Regions from separate parts of the Homo sapiens genome. Here region 2 is linked to region 1. Evidence: promoter capture Hi-C in 16 types of primary human blood cells and fetal thymus (Javierre and others, 2016). All regions are on one chromosome and are shown on one strand. The core of a region is centred on a gene start or on the middle of the fragment in contact, and the rest is flanking DNA. Distances in the headings are between cores, read along the strand shown.

Region 1 (6,442 bases), core at 2,032-4,531:
TTTAATATTATATGAGAGTTCATGTTATTCCTGCTTTCCTCATGAAGATAAAGTCAACTGAATGATTGCCATTCATTTAATCACATAGTTTCCAAGATTCATTTCAATATACTGAGAGTAGACAAATGGAACATAGGACTTACCATTTTCTCTACATTTGCTTTTGACTACTGGACATCTTTGCTTTTGCCATCGTGTTGAAAAATCACTCTTCTTCAGATCCAAGTTATAATTATGAAATTCACTCATCTCTAGAGAAAAAGAATTCAGGCTTATATGAGTCATGGCCTTTCTGCCATTTGGGGCATAAATTTTAAAAATTCAGCTTGCCATTTCCATCTATGTACTTCCCCTGACTATCCTTTTTAAAGTACAACATGAACTTACTTTTGTTTTATAGTACTACATTATTATGTTTACACTTTACTATATAAATAAAACTATATTTATGCCATGGAAAGTACCCTTAGCAAAATCCTATATACTATTAAAATTAGTTAATTCGTAATGTATAATGAAACCTAACATTACCAGAAAGGGACTTGGTTAGTGAAAAGGCAGATGTAGGGAGAAAGACATGTATTTAAATCACAGATCCACATATACAAACTTGATAACTTCACAAATAACCTAGCTTTTGCATCCCAGTTTTCCTAATTTGCAAAAGACGAAAGAAATAAAAAAGAAAAGGATACTGTCACAATCCAGTATGGGTATTTTAAAAATAAAATAAAAATATAATGAACTTAGCATCAATAACATCAATCATTTAGTAAGCTTTTAGTAAATAGCAGTGTGTCTAATTTTCTTCTTTTCTTTTTTTTTTTTTGAGATGGAGTGCAATGGCGTGATATTGGCTCACTGCAACCGCCGCCTCCTGGGTTCAAGCGGTTCTCCTGCCTCAGCCTCTTGAGTAGCTGGGATTACAGGCTTGTGCCACCATACCTGGCTAATTTTTGTATTTTTAGTACAGACGGGGTTTCACCATATTGGCCAGGCTGGTCTCGAACTCCTGACCACAGGTGATCTACCCACCTCAGCCTCCCAAATTTCTGGGATTATAGGCATGAGCCACTGTGCCCAGCCATCTAATTTTCTTTATAATGAAGGACATACATAGGCTAAAATAGTGGGGTCTAATGATTTAGAACAAAGACAGATAATCTTGCCTCTGAACAAAATACCTAAAGAATCATTTTGCTCTCTTGAAATATTAATTATTTACTGATGATTAATATTTACTTAAAAGCCTTTTTTAAACTTTTATTTTTGGTTCAGGGGTGCATGCGAAGGTTTGTTACATATGTAAATTCATGTCACGGGGGTTTGTTGTACAAAAGCCTTTTATAAATTAAATGATAATATGAATTATATTTTATAGGTAAAATTAGACATTGATTGCGCATGTAATACCTAACTCAGTTATTTTACATATGGAGTAAAGAGAGTAGGTATCACTTTATGGATGAAGAAATTGAATGCTAGAGATGGCCAAAATCATAAAGCTTATTTAATATAATGTTACCAACTGTGAATAAGTTATAAATTTATAAACACCTTTAGGATAAAAAGTGCTTTAACATACATGTCAGTTGATTTGAATATTACACAAATCTAAGATAAATATGGAATGTTTCATGCCTGTATTTGATAGAAAAAGAAACTAAACTAAACTACACAGAGGTTGCAAATTGACCCTTCAAATCTAGAGAGCGGTAAAAGTTTGAGTAAAATTCAAGTCTGACTCCACATCTATTTCACTATTTCAAGCTGTCCCAAGTTGTGAGCGACTTTACCATAATATAGTTAATAAAATAAAGGGAAAAAAGTTTTTAAGTTTTGGAAGACTTGATTTAAAATACAATATGAACATAACATGAAATCAACATAAATAGAACATGAAAAGAATCAGAGTAAATTGCTTGCCTATGCCTTATATGCTTGTATGAAATTCTTGGTATCTTAAAATTGTATAAAAACAAAACTACACACTTATGTGGTAAAAACATACCCCAGCTGTGTCGAGACCTCCGACCACGAATCCACCCCATCAAATACTTATAAGTGCACGTCTACCGCAGAGAGGAATCTAAAGTCTTCAATGCACAAAGGATTCCTGAATAAAATAAAACTGGGCATTTGTTTTTTGTTCTCTTTCCCGTGGTGAGATAAAATATTTTGAATAGAAAAGTAAAATGCAGAAACTTTTCCCCTGTGCATGCCTTTAAGAAAAGAATAGAAATGACAATTCACATAAAGCCAGGCAAAATTAATTTTATACATTTCTCTTGGTTGTAAAATAATCGCCAATTACTTCAAAATGTCATAACAATATAATGAACCTATTAATTCACCTACATTGAGATATTTAATACCAATATTTTACTTTACTGATATTAGATAACAACACACCCAGTTTTCTGTTTATAGTCGTTTATTGCTTCTTGGCCTTTTAGCTAAGATCAAGTGTTTCCAGTTGTTTATTTTATCTGGCAATAATTTAGTTTTCTTTCTGCAAGCTAAACTCAGGTAAGTTATATGCACTTTTGTTGAATGTCCTTTTCTAGTGCATTTTAATCCAACGTGCCCATATCATCATCATCAACAAATTATCATCACCATCATCATTAACAAAACTAATCTCACATGTTTATATAGTAACATCTTAGCAATGCACAGCAGAGCTTCCAGAAAAAACCATTTAATAAATAAGCATAGTGCTTAGATTTCAAAAATAAAAGCTATTTCATATTTGATTATGATAGTTGGAAAGCACAGATATAACTTGTTTCACCTTGCATGTAAAGATGTGTATCAAAGGTAAGTGCCCCCTACAGCATCAGAAAACTCAAAAATTTGACAATTTAAATTGAATCTCAATTCTTCTCATCCTAAATGTAAAGATTCATTTTTCTAGTTTTGCTTAGAGACAAGGCTTCTTCTTATAGTAATATTACAACTTCTGATTCTTCAATAAGTATATCCTAATTACCTATCATCAGATACAGTGATAGAATATACATCAGAAATGATAAGCATTCCGTATCCTCAGGAGTTCTATTCAAGCATCTAAGAAACAATTAGAATTACCTTATAGTGTAAATATTTTTATTTTTTTGAGGTTGAAATATAATTTCTCATATCTTGAATAATAAACACACACACATACACACATACACACACCTGCTCAGAGAGGGAAGATCTTGATTCTTGTGGATAAAAGCCTTCTATAAAACTAGAAAATTTAGATATGTCCTCAGTTCCTGATCTAGAATTGAAAGTGGAGATACTTAGTGAATTTCTATCTTTGAGAAAGATGTGACAAATATTATAATCTCATCTTCCTGTGGAAAAACATAAACCACAGTACTTCCGCCTTATCACTACAAAAATATTGTTAATTTGGTAAAAGAGTTAAGACCACCCATTGTTGGATAAATGTTAGGTTGGTGCAAAAGTAATTGTAGTTTTGCCATTATTTTAAATAACATTTTAGGATTTGAAAATGATGAATTTAAATGATGCCATTTAATCCTAAATATTTTAGAGATTCAATTCAATTCCAGTTAATACCTCAGGTTTTGTTGTAGAACTTACAAAGCAGAATTCTACATGTACATTAAATTACAAAAGTCAAGACTAGGAAAGTCACAATTGAAGATGAAGAAAATGTGGGAGCCTTGTTTTACTAGATAGTAAGACCTATGTTAAAACCGTATTAATAAAGGCAAAGTGGCATGTGGGGCATAGATAGACAAATTGAGAAGGGTAAAAATACAGACAAGAAAAAGTCATGTGCATAGATTAAAAAATATAAGGTAACATTGCAGATAAAGTGGGAAATTAGCTCCTATTCAATAATTTGTCCTGGGTTACTATCACACTGGCCTTTAAGTTACAAAAAATTAGTCCTGGGAATTTTTAAATTTTAATATAAAAAACATGAAATTGCATCTCTGTCATATCTACATCATATGCAGGAGAATTAGAAACTTAAATATATACCCCAGTATACATAAGAATAATATATGAATTGATACCAATGAACAAGATAAGCTAAATATATATTTTATGTTTATTAATTTAAAATACTAACATAAGACATCATATAAAGTAATATAAGATGAACACATTATAACATTTTAACAAAAACCAAAGCTATTAATCTTAAAACTCTGAAATATAAGGAAGGAAAACAGCTTTCATGTGGTGATGTGTTAAAGTTGGACAATAAATTTATTCAACATTTTTTTTCTTTAGCGAATGCTATTTGCTATGCACTTTTCTAGATCTTGAGAATGTCAAAGTAAACAATCCAAAAGAAAGTTTTTGCCCACATGGAAATTAATTACTTTTTTTTTTTTTTTTTTTAAGAGATGGAGTTTCACTCTTGTTGTCCAGGCTGGAGTGCAACGGGGCGATCTCGGCTCACTGCAACCTCCGCCACCTGGGTTCAAGCAATTCTCCTGTCTCAGCCTCCAGAATAACTGGGATTACAGGCATGTGCCACCACACCTGGCTAATTTTTGTATTTCTAGTAGAGACGAGGTTTCACCATGTTAGTCAGGCTGGTCTCGAACTCCTGACCTCAGGTGATCCTCCTGCCTCAGCCTCCCAATGTGCTGAGATTACAGACGTGAGCCACCACACCCAGCTGGAAATTACTTTTTAGTTTAGGTGATATAAAATGAATAAGTATAAAACAAATTCAAAATTAAACAAGATAGGTGAATATAAAACAAGTTGAAGAAAATATGTTATTTTCTGACATACCAAGATTCTTTTCAGCTAATCAACATTTTCTATTAGCTATTTTATATAGTAAAAATAGATCTATATAGAGGAAATATAGGCTGATATTTTCTAACAACTACATTTTAACAAATATTTGGTTTTTGAAAGGAAATGAATAAATGAGTAAATGCAGGCTTTTTATGGGAAAAACCTGAATCACAATTTCCTGAAGAGTTATTTTTATATATGTAGTTTTCGATTGAATAGAGATTGTCTCTTAAATACAGAATTGAGAAAAGGGGGATAGGAATAGGATAAAAAAGAACATTTGAATATCCTACCTATTTCGTTTAGTTCAAATGGCAACTTACAGCCAACTGGGAAGTCCCCACACATACCTAAAAGAAGATTTCTGAAATAAATACCATGATAAAGCTAAGCACCAGGGAGAGTTTTATTGTCATATATAAAGGTCCCTAAACCAACTGACAGAGTGTGGAAAGGATTCTTAAAGAAGAAAATTCTAAAATGGGTCCTGTATGTCGGGTTAAAACAATTAGTTAGATAAAGAAATAGTATGTTAAAACTCCAATTTCTTTCTCAATGTTGAACATACACTCACTTTGCTGTAGTCATGATAGTAAACTTATTGGGGATTTGCTGGGCATTTGTACTGGTTTATTCTATGTGAATTGCAAAAGGACATAGCATAGTTTTCAGATAAAATACTTTCTAATAAGTGAAATAAAACCAACGCAATTAACTTCTGCAGAAAGAATAATTTGACTATAAAAGTACCTGAACAAACTTCATATAGACGTATCTATATAACTTTCAAAAACTATTGTTAGAAGAAAAATTACAATATTTTGCAAACAGCCTGGGCTCAAGTCATTTGAGAACATCCATCACCACAATAAACTATTTAATTACTTTCATTAGTTGAGAAGAGCCAACAATCAACCGGCCTTTTTGGTCAGTAAGCTAACTCGCACTGTGGCCTCAGAAAACCCTTCTCTTCTGGTACACAGGAAAGACTTAACACGCAGCCAACTTGTGGTTAGAAACAGAGTGCTTGGCAGGTTGCTGGCTTCAAGCTGTGACACTAAAGCTGGATGTGGTCAGAGGCGTTTACTGGACGCTTGCCCAAATATGAAAGCTTAAGATGTGCAGCTATTGCCAAGCAAAAATTTTGTAATCTTGACCTTTTGGTAAATGTGTTTGAATTGACAAAAGACATGTCAAAAAGGACAAATTTTTAAAATTCACATGGACAATAAAGAAAATAAAAAGGAGTGGAAGAAATAGAGCTGAGTCTTTGGATATGCAGGGGCATCTATGGCCACACCACCATGATGCATCCAGTCTCGTCTGGACACGCATGGGCATATTGAAGCAGAAGTGAAATGATGACTAATGTAAAAGTAAAAAAGTCTGCAAACATATTTTAAGAAATATGTATATATATATTTTCAGAACCTATTTTCCATTCAGCTAGGTATTAAGTACTGGGCTACACATACTGACATATAATGTTAACTGGTGTATTGTAATTATATGAACTCAAGGCAGAGATTCCATAAATCTGGAATTTATACTTTGGGGAAAAACAGGTCATCATCTTGGCAATTAATTAATTTTCTCTGGCACAGCTTCCTAAGCCAGGAATGATTAAATGATTTTTTTGCCCCATCTCAGTTGAAATTTT
Region 2 (6,442 bases), core at 2,548-5,047, 160 kb before region 1:
TAATGGAGAATTCCCTCCTCACCTATGCCCACTGCCCAGCGACCCACCCCTTTGTTTACCTTTGATAAGTAGCTGAACAACAACAACAAAAAGTCCACACACACAAATACTAGAATCCCTGTTCCAAAAGCTGTGACTGATGATCTCAGCTTGGTTACCCTGTGTAGGGCCCTGCCTCATTTTCTTTTCCTTTTTTTTTTTTTTCCTCCTGGTTGTGGGCACTTCTTAAGTATATGTACCCATGGCTAGATTATTTTCAGAGTTTGAAATAACAGGAAGTTATCACCCTTAAAAGTAGTCAAATGACATTTCACTATGCCATTGTGCAGGTGTGCATGTTTTCAACAGTGACTAACAAAAGACAAGTCATTCTCCTGGTGTGTTTTCATCACGGTGGGGCCATCTATTTCAGTAGTTCTGTTTTCAAAAGCAGTGTATTTAAGACCCTTAGGACTTCTGTTTAGAAGTACTTAGCTCCTAAAACTTGAATAAAGTGATCCTGAACTTTTGGGTGAGAAGTTGAAACATGTTTTCTATTTTTACACTTTTAGTAGGCTCAAAGTTGCTTCATACCATTCAGTAAAAGAATGATGATGGCTTTATTGCTTCTTTAAGCAATATGCACATGGTATTCAAAGGATAAAAGTAACAATAAGCCATATTTTACGTGCTAAAATTGGCTAGTTCCTAACCTCCTTCAAGTCTTAGATACTATGTCAAGGAGACCAACTCTGAACATCTCTAATATTCAACACCTTCCCCCTACTTCCCTTTCTCCTAGTCATTCTCAACCTTGGTCTTTGTCTTTTTTGCTTCGTAGTGATCATGTAACATAATTTTCTAGTTTATTATGTCTTCTCTCTCTAGATCCTGAGGTGCAGGAAGGCAGAAACTTTTTGTGTAGTGATATACAACAATTGGTCAGAACAGTGAATGGCATATGGTTGGCATTCAAAAATATTGAAATAGTAGTTTTTGATAGGACTGAACCACTAGGCAACTTAAATTATCCAGAAAGACATGTTACAAACAGGCCAGTCAAGGAACTTTGGGAAACACTTGGAGCTTACTAGAAAGATGTCCTGGAGGCAGGAAACAACTTGAATCCCAGCTCTGCTGCTTGACTAGAGCTAGGACTTGGGCTAGTCTGTCATCTGTACAAATGAAATTTGCATTTCCAGGCTGGGCGCAGTGGCTCATACTTGTAATCCCAGCACTTTGGGAGGTTGAGGCAGTCGGATCACCTGAGGTTAGGAGTTCAAGACCAGACTGGCCAACATGGTGAAACTCTGTCTCTACTAAAAATACAAAATACACCTGTAGTCCCAGCTATTTGGGAGTCTGAGGAAGGAGAACCGCTTGAATCTCAGAGGCGGAGGTTGCAGCGAGCCAAGATTGTGCCACTGCACTCCAGCCGAGGCAACAAAGCGAGATTCCATCTCAAAAAAAAAAATTCTGCATTTCCTTTTCAAGTAGATAAGATAATTACATCATACATTGTTGCGAACACAAGTAAATCCTTTGCAAACCATTAAATAGCATTCTCACATATTAAGATTTATTTTACTTGAAACTGAAATTGCAATAACTGGCCAGGCAAGGTGGCTCACGCCTGTAATCCCAGCACTTTGGGAGGCCGAGGTGGAAGGATCACCTGAAGTCAGGAGTTCGATATCAGCCTGGCCAACATGGTGAAAACCCGTCTGTACTAAAAATACAAAAATTAGCTGGGCACGGGGCATAGTGATGGGTGCCTGTAATCCCAGCTACTTGGTAGGCTGAGGCAGGAGAATCTGTAATCCCAGCTACTTGGTAGGCTGAGGCAGGAGAATCGCTTGAACTGGGGAGGCAGAGATTGTGCCATTGCACTCCAGCCTGGGCGACAAGAGCAAAACTCCATTTCAAAAAAAAAAAAAAAAAAGGAAAAAAAGGCAATAACTTAGGCTAGATGGCAGAAATCTTTCTGATTGTTTCTCTTTTTTGTTTATTGGTCACAGCAAATGCAGGATGTGGCATGGATCAAGGAAAACAAAGCAGAATATGCCCAACTGGATAGCTCAAAAGACGGCTCTGACACTGAGGGGGTCTCTTCCTTTCTGTTAGAGTCTCCTTTAGCACTGATTTTCTTTCTTTTTTTTTTTTTTTTTTTTTTTTTTTGAGACAGAGTCTTTATTGCCCAGGCTGGAGTTCAGTGGTGTGATCTCAGCTCACTGCAAACTCCAACTCCCAGATTCAAGTGATTCTCCTGTCTCAGCCTCCCAAGTAGCTGGGACTACAGGCGCCCGCCACCACGCCCGGCTAATTTTTTGTATTTTTAGTAGAGACGGGGTTTCACCGTGTTAGCCAGGATGGTCTACGATCTCCTGATCTCATGATCCGCCCGCCTCGGCCTCCCAAAGTGCTGGGATTACAGGCGTGAGCCACTGTGCCCGGCCAAATATTTACTCCTTGATTTAACCCACTGCCACTACTAGGACCAGTGGCACTCACTAATTCACCATAAATTGGGTAAACAGTTACCTTGTTTTTATTAATCTTTCTTAAATGTATGTATAACTCACATTTATTTAAATGTTAAATATTAGAAATGTTTGGGTCTTGGCTGGGTGTCGTGGCTCACGCCTGTAATCCCAGTACTTTGGGAGGCTGAGGCGGGTGGGTCACCTGAGGTCAGGAGTTCGAGACCAGCCTGGCCAACATGGTGAACTCCCATCTCTACTAAAAATACAAAAATTAGCGAGGCATGGTGGCGGGTGCCTGTAATCCCAGCTACTTGGGAGGCCGAGGCAGGAGAATCGCTTGGACTTGGGAGGCAGAAGTTGCAGTGAGCTGAGATCATGCCACTGCACTCTAGCCTGAGCAACAGAGTAAGACTCTGTCTCAAAAAAAAAAAAAAAAAAAAAAAGAAAAAAGAAATGGTTGTGTCTTTTCTGACCAGAAACATGCTGTGGGAAAGTAACTCTTGTTTATATCAATTAGCCTATGATCAAATTAGTCTCATTACATGTTATTTTGCCTAAAGTCATAGTTACCAAGAATCTATTGATGTTAAGTGAGGACTTACTGTACAGAAAACAGCATTTTAAACACAGTTTTATCTATGCAAATGGAATCTTGAGACTACTAGATAAAGTGTTATGAATGAGAGAAATTAACAATCAGTATAAAAATAAGTCTACAATCCAGCATATCTCAGCCTAACAAGGAATGAAGACCTGGGGACCATGATTCGGGTATTTTGTTTGTAACAGATTTATTGGGGCCTATCCAAGGAAAAGTTAAAAATGATCCTTTGAGTTTTTAAAATTTTATTTATCTATGTATGTATGTATTTTCTGAGACACAGTTTCACTCTGTCGCCCAAGCTGGAGTGCAGTGGCACAATATTGGCTCACTGCAACCTCCGCCTCTGGGGTTCAAGTGATTCTTGTGCCTCAGCCTTCCTAGTAGCTGGAATTACAGGCACGTATGTCACCATACCTGGCTAATTTTTGTATTATTAGAAGAGATGGTTTTGCCATATTGGCCAGGCTGGTTTTTTCGTTTTTTTTTTTTTTTTTTTTTTAGATGAAGTCTCACTCTGTCACCCAGGCTGGAGTGCAGTGGCACAATGTCAGCTCACTGCAACCTCCGCCTCCTGGGGTCAAGCGATTTTCCTGCCTCAGCCTCCCCAGTAGCCAGGATTACAGGCGCCTGCCACCATACCTGGCTAATTTTTGTATTTTTAGTAGAGATGGGATTTCACCATGTTGGCCAGGCTGGTCTCGAACTACCAGCCTCAAACTCCACCCACCTCGGCCTCCTAAAGTGCTGGGATTACAGGCGTGAGCCACCGCGTCTGACCTCTTTTAATTGTTATTTTTTGAAGTTGGATAATATTGGTTTTTTACAATCGGCTTATGACTGCTCTAATGTTGGGAGTTTTGTTTGTTTGTTCTTCAAAAACAAAAACAAAAACCCTGGGTCTTTATTGCTACATTCAATTAAAATCCCTATCCATCCTACTGAACAAAATCAATCTCTGCAGTGCTTTCCAACCCTGACTGCACATGACCATCAGTGGTGAGCTCCCAAAAACGTCTGATGGCAGAGCCCCACTTCTGCATCACTCTTGGGGAGGACACCGGAGGGTTTGGCATCCATACTTTTAGTTTTTTTAATTTTTCCCCCCACCGCCCCCTCCCTATGCTATAGGCTCCTTTTTATTGAGGTAAAATTCACATAATGTAAAATTCATGGCATCTTTACTTTTTACAAGCCTCTTAAGTGATATGTATAGCCAGGGTTGTGGTCGACTCAACTGGGTGCTCTTTGTTTAACAACACATTGGGAACAGTTCTGGAAATAGCCGCTTGTGATGGTTAAGTTTATGTGTCAACTTGACTGAGCTATAGGGATGCCCAGATAGGTAGCGAAACATTATCCGTGGCTGTTTCTGTAAGGGTGTTTCCGGAAGCGGTTAGCGTTTGAATCAGTAGACCTAGTAAAGAAGATCCTCTCCCACCAATGTAGGCAGGTGTCACTCAATCCATTGAGGGCCTCCATCGAACAAAAGTTAGAGGGTAGAGAGTCCCTCTTTCTGTCCATGAGCTGGGACATCCACAGCTCCTGGTCTCAGACCTTTAAACTTGGATTGAATTATACCACTGACTTTCCTGGTTCTCCTGCTTGCAGACAGATGGTGAGGTTTCTCAGACTCCATAAGCCTCCATGAGCCAATTTCTATAAGAATAATAAATCTCTCTCTTTATTTATATGTAGATATTTATATACATATAGTCTTTATATGCATTTATATCTAGTCATGTGCTACATATAGATATTTCAGTCAATGACAGCCTGTATACATGATGGTTATCCCATAAGATTATAACACCATGTTTTTACTGTACCTCTTCTATGTTTAGATATGTTTATATACACAAATACTTACCATTGTGTTCCAATAGCCTGTGCTGTTCACTCCAGTAATGTGCTGAATGGGTGTGTAGCCTAGGAGCAATAGGCTATACCGTATAGCCTAGGTGTGTAGTAGTTATATCGTCTAGGTTTGTGTAAATACACTCTATGATGTTCACACAATGATGAAGCCCCCAATAACACATTTCTCCGAACATTTCCCCATCCTTAAGTGACACATGGCTATATATAACATTGGTTCTATTTCTCTGGAGAATCTTCACTAATACAGAACTCCTCTTCTGAATTTGCCTTATTTTACTTTTAAATAAAATAAGTAGTCTGGGCGCGGTGGCTCACGCCTGTAATCCCAGCACTTTGGGAGGCCGAAGTGGGTGGATCATGAGGTCAGGAGTTCAAGACCAGCCTGGCCAAGATGGTGAAACCCCATCTCTACTAAAAATACAAAAATTAGCCAGGCGTGGTGGTGGGTGCCTGTAATCCCAGCTACTCGGGAGGCTGAGGCAGAGAATTGCTTGAACCTAGGAGGCGGAGGTTGCAGTGAGCTGAGATTACACCACTGCACTCCTGCCTGGGTGACAGAGTGAGACTCCGTCTCAAAAAAAAAAAAAAAAAAAAAGAAGAATATAATTCTTGCCAGATCCATATTTCCTTCTCCATCAATGTTTGTTTTGCAGTGCTGCAGAAATTAAGATAATCTTAATTGATAGATTAGATTTCTTTTTTTTGTTGTTGTTTTAAGATGGAGTCTCACTCTGTCACCCAGGCTGGAGTGCAGTGGCACAATGTCGGTTCGCTGCAACCTCCACCTCCCAGGTTCAAGAGATTTTCCTGCCTCAGTCTCCCGAGTAGCTGGGATTACAGGTGCCTGCCACCATGACTGACTAATTTTTGTATTTTTAATACAGGCAAGGTTTCTCCATGTTGACCAGGCTGGTCTTGAAATCCTGACCTCAGGTGATCTGCCCACTTTGGCCTCCCAAAGTGCTGGGATTACAGGCATAAGCCACTGCACCCAGCCAGATTTCATTATATATTAGTCTATTCTCATGCTGCTATGAAGAAATACCCAAGACTGGGTAATTTATAAAGAAAAGGGGTTTGATTGGCTCATAGTTCTGCATGGCTGGGGAGGCCGCAGGAAACTTACAATCATAACAGAAGGTGTATTCTTCACAGAGCAGCAGGAAACAGAATGAGTGCCAGCAGGGAAAATGCCAGACACTTATAAAACCATCGGATCTCATGAGAACTCACTCACTATCACAAGAACAGCATGGGAGAAACCACCCCCATGATTCAATTACCTCCCACTGGGTCCCTCCCATGACATATGGGGATTACTGGATTACAATTCAAGATGAGATTTGGATGGGGACAGAAAGCCAAACCATATCATTCCCCTCCTGTCCACTCCCAAATCTCATGTTCTCACATTTCAAAATACAATCATGCCCTCCCAACAGTCCCCCAAAATCTTAACTCATTCCAGCATTAACCCAAAAGTCCAAGTCCAAAGTCT

Evidence for each region. Contacts are between HindIII fragments. The CHiCAGO score rates a contact against its expected background, and 5 or more counts as called.
Region 2: a contact is called between a fragment that was not itself captured here and the fragment with the promoter of KLRK1 in region 1, in 1 of 17 cell types (naive CD8 T cells). The highest score is 7.0, in naive CD8 T cells.

What each region holds. Positions count from the first base shown.
Region 1 is chr12:10,386,760-10,393,201 of GRCh38, forward strand. It overlaps KLRK1 (killer cell lectin like receptor K1), which reads right to left and starts at 3,282. Exons shown (of 8, transcript NM_007360.4): 1 at 3,184-3,282; 2 at 2,012-2,116; 3 at 144-251. The coding sequence starts at 2,051. It overlaps KLRC4-KLRK1 (KLRC4-KLRK1 readthrough), which reads right to left. Exons shown (of 13, transcript NM_001199805.1): 6 at 5,076-5,132; 7 at 2,012-2,116; 8 at 144-251. The coding sequence starts at 2,051. The region is part of intron 3 of KLRK1-AS1 (KLRK1 antisense RNA 1); the gene reads left to right. The HindIII fragment of the contact is 4,388 bases long and covers 1,504-5,891 here.
Region 2 is chr12:10,227,523-10,233,964 of GRCh38, forward strand. No RefSeq gene overlaps it. Among named protein-coding and RNA genes, the nearest start is that of GABARAPL1-AS1, 16 kb to the left of the region's middle. The HindIII fragment of the contact is 8,341 bases long and covers 1-6,442 here.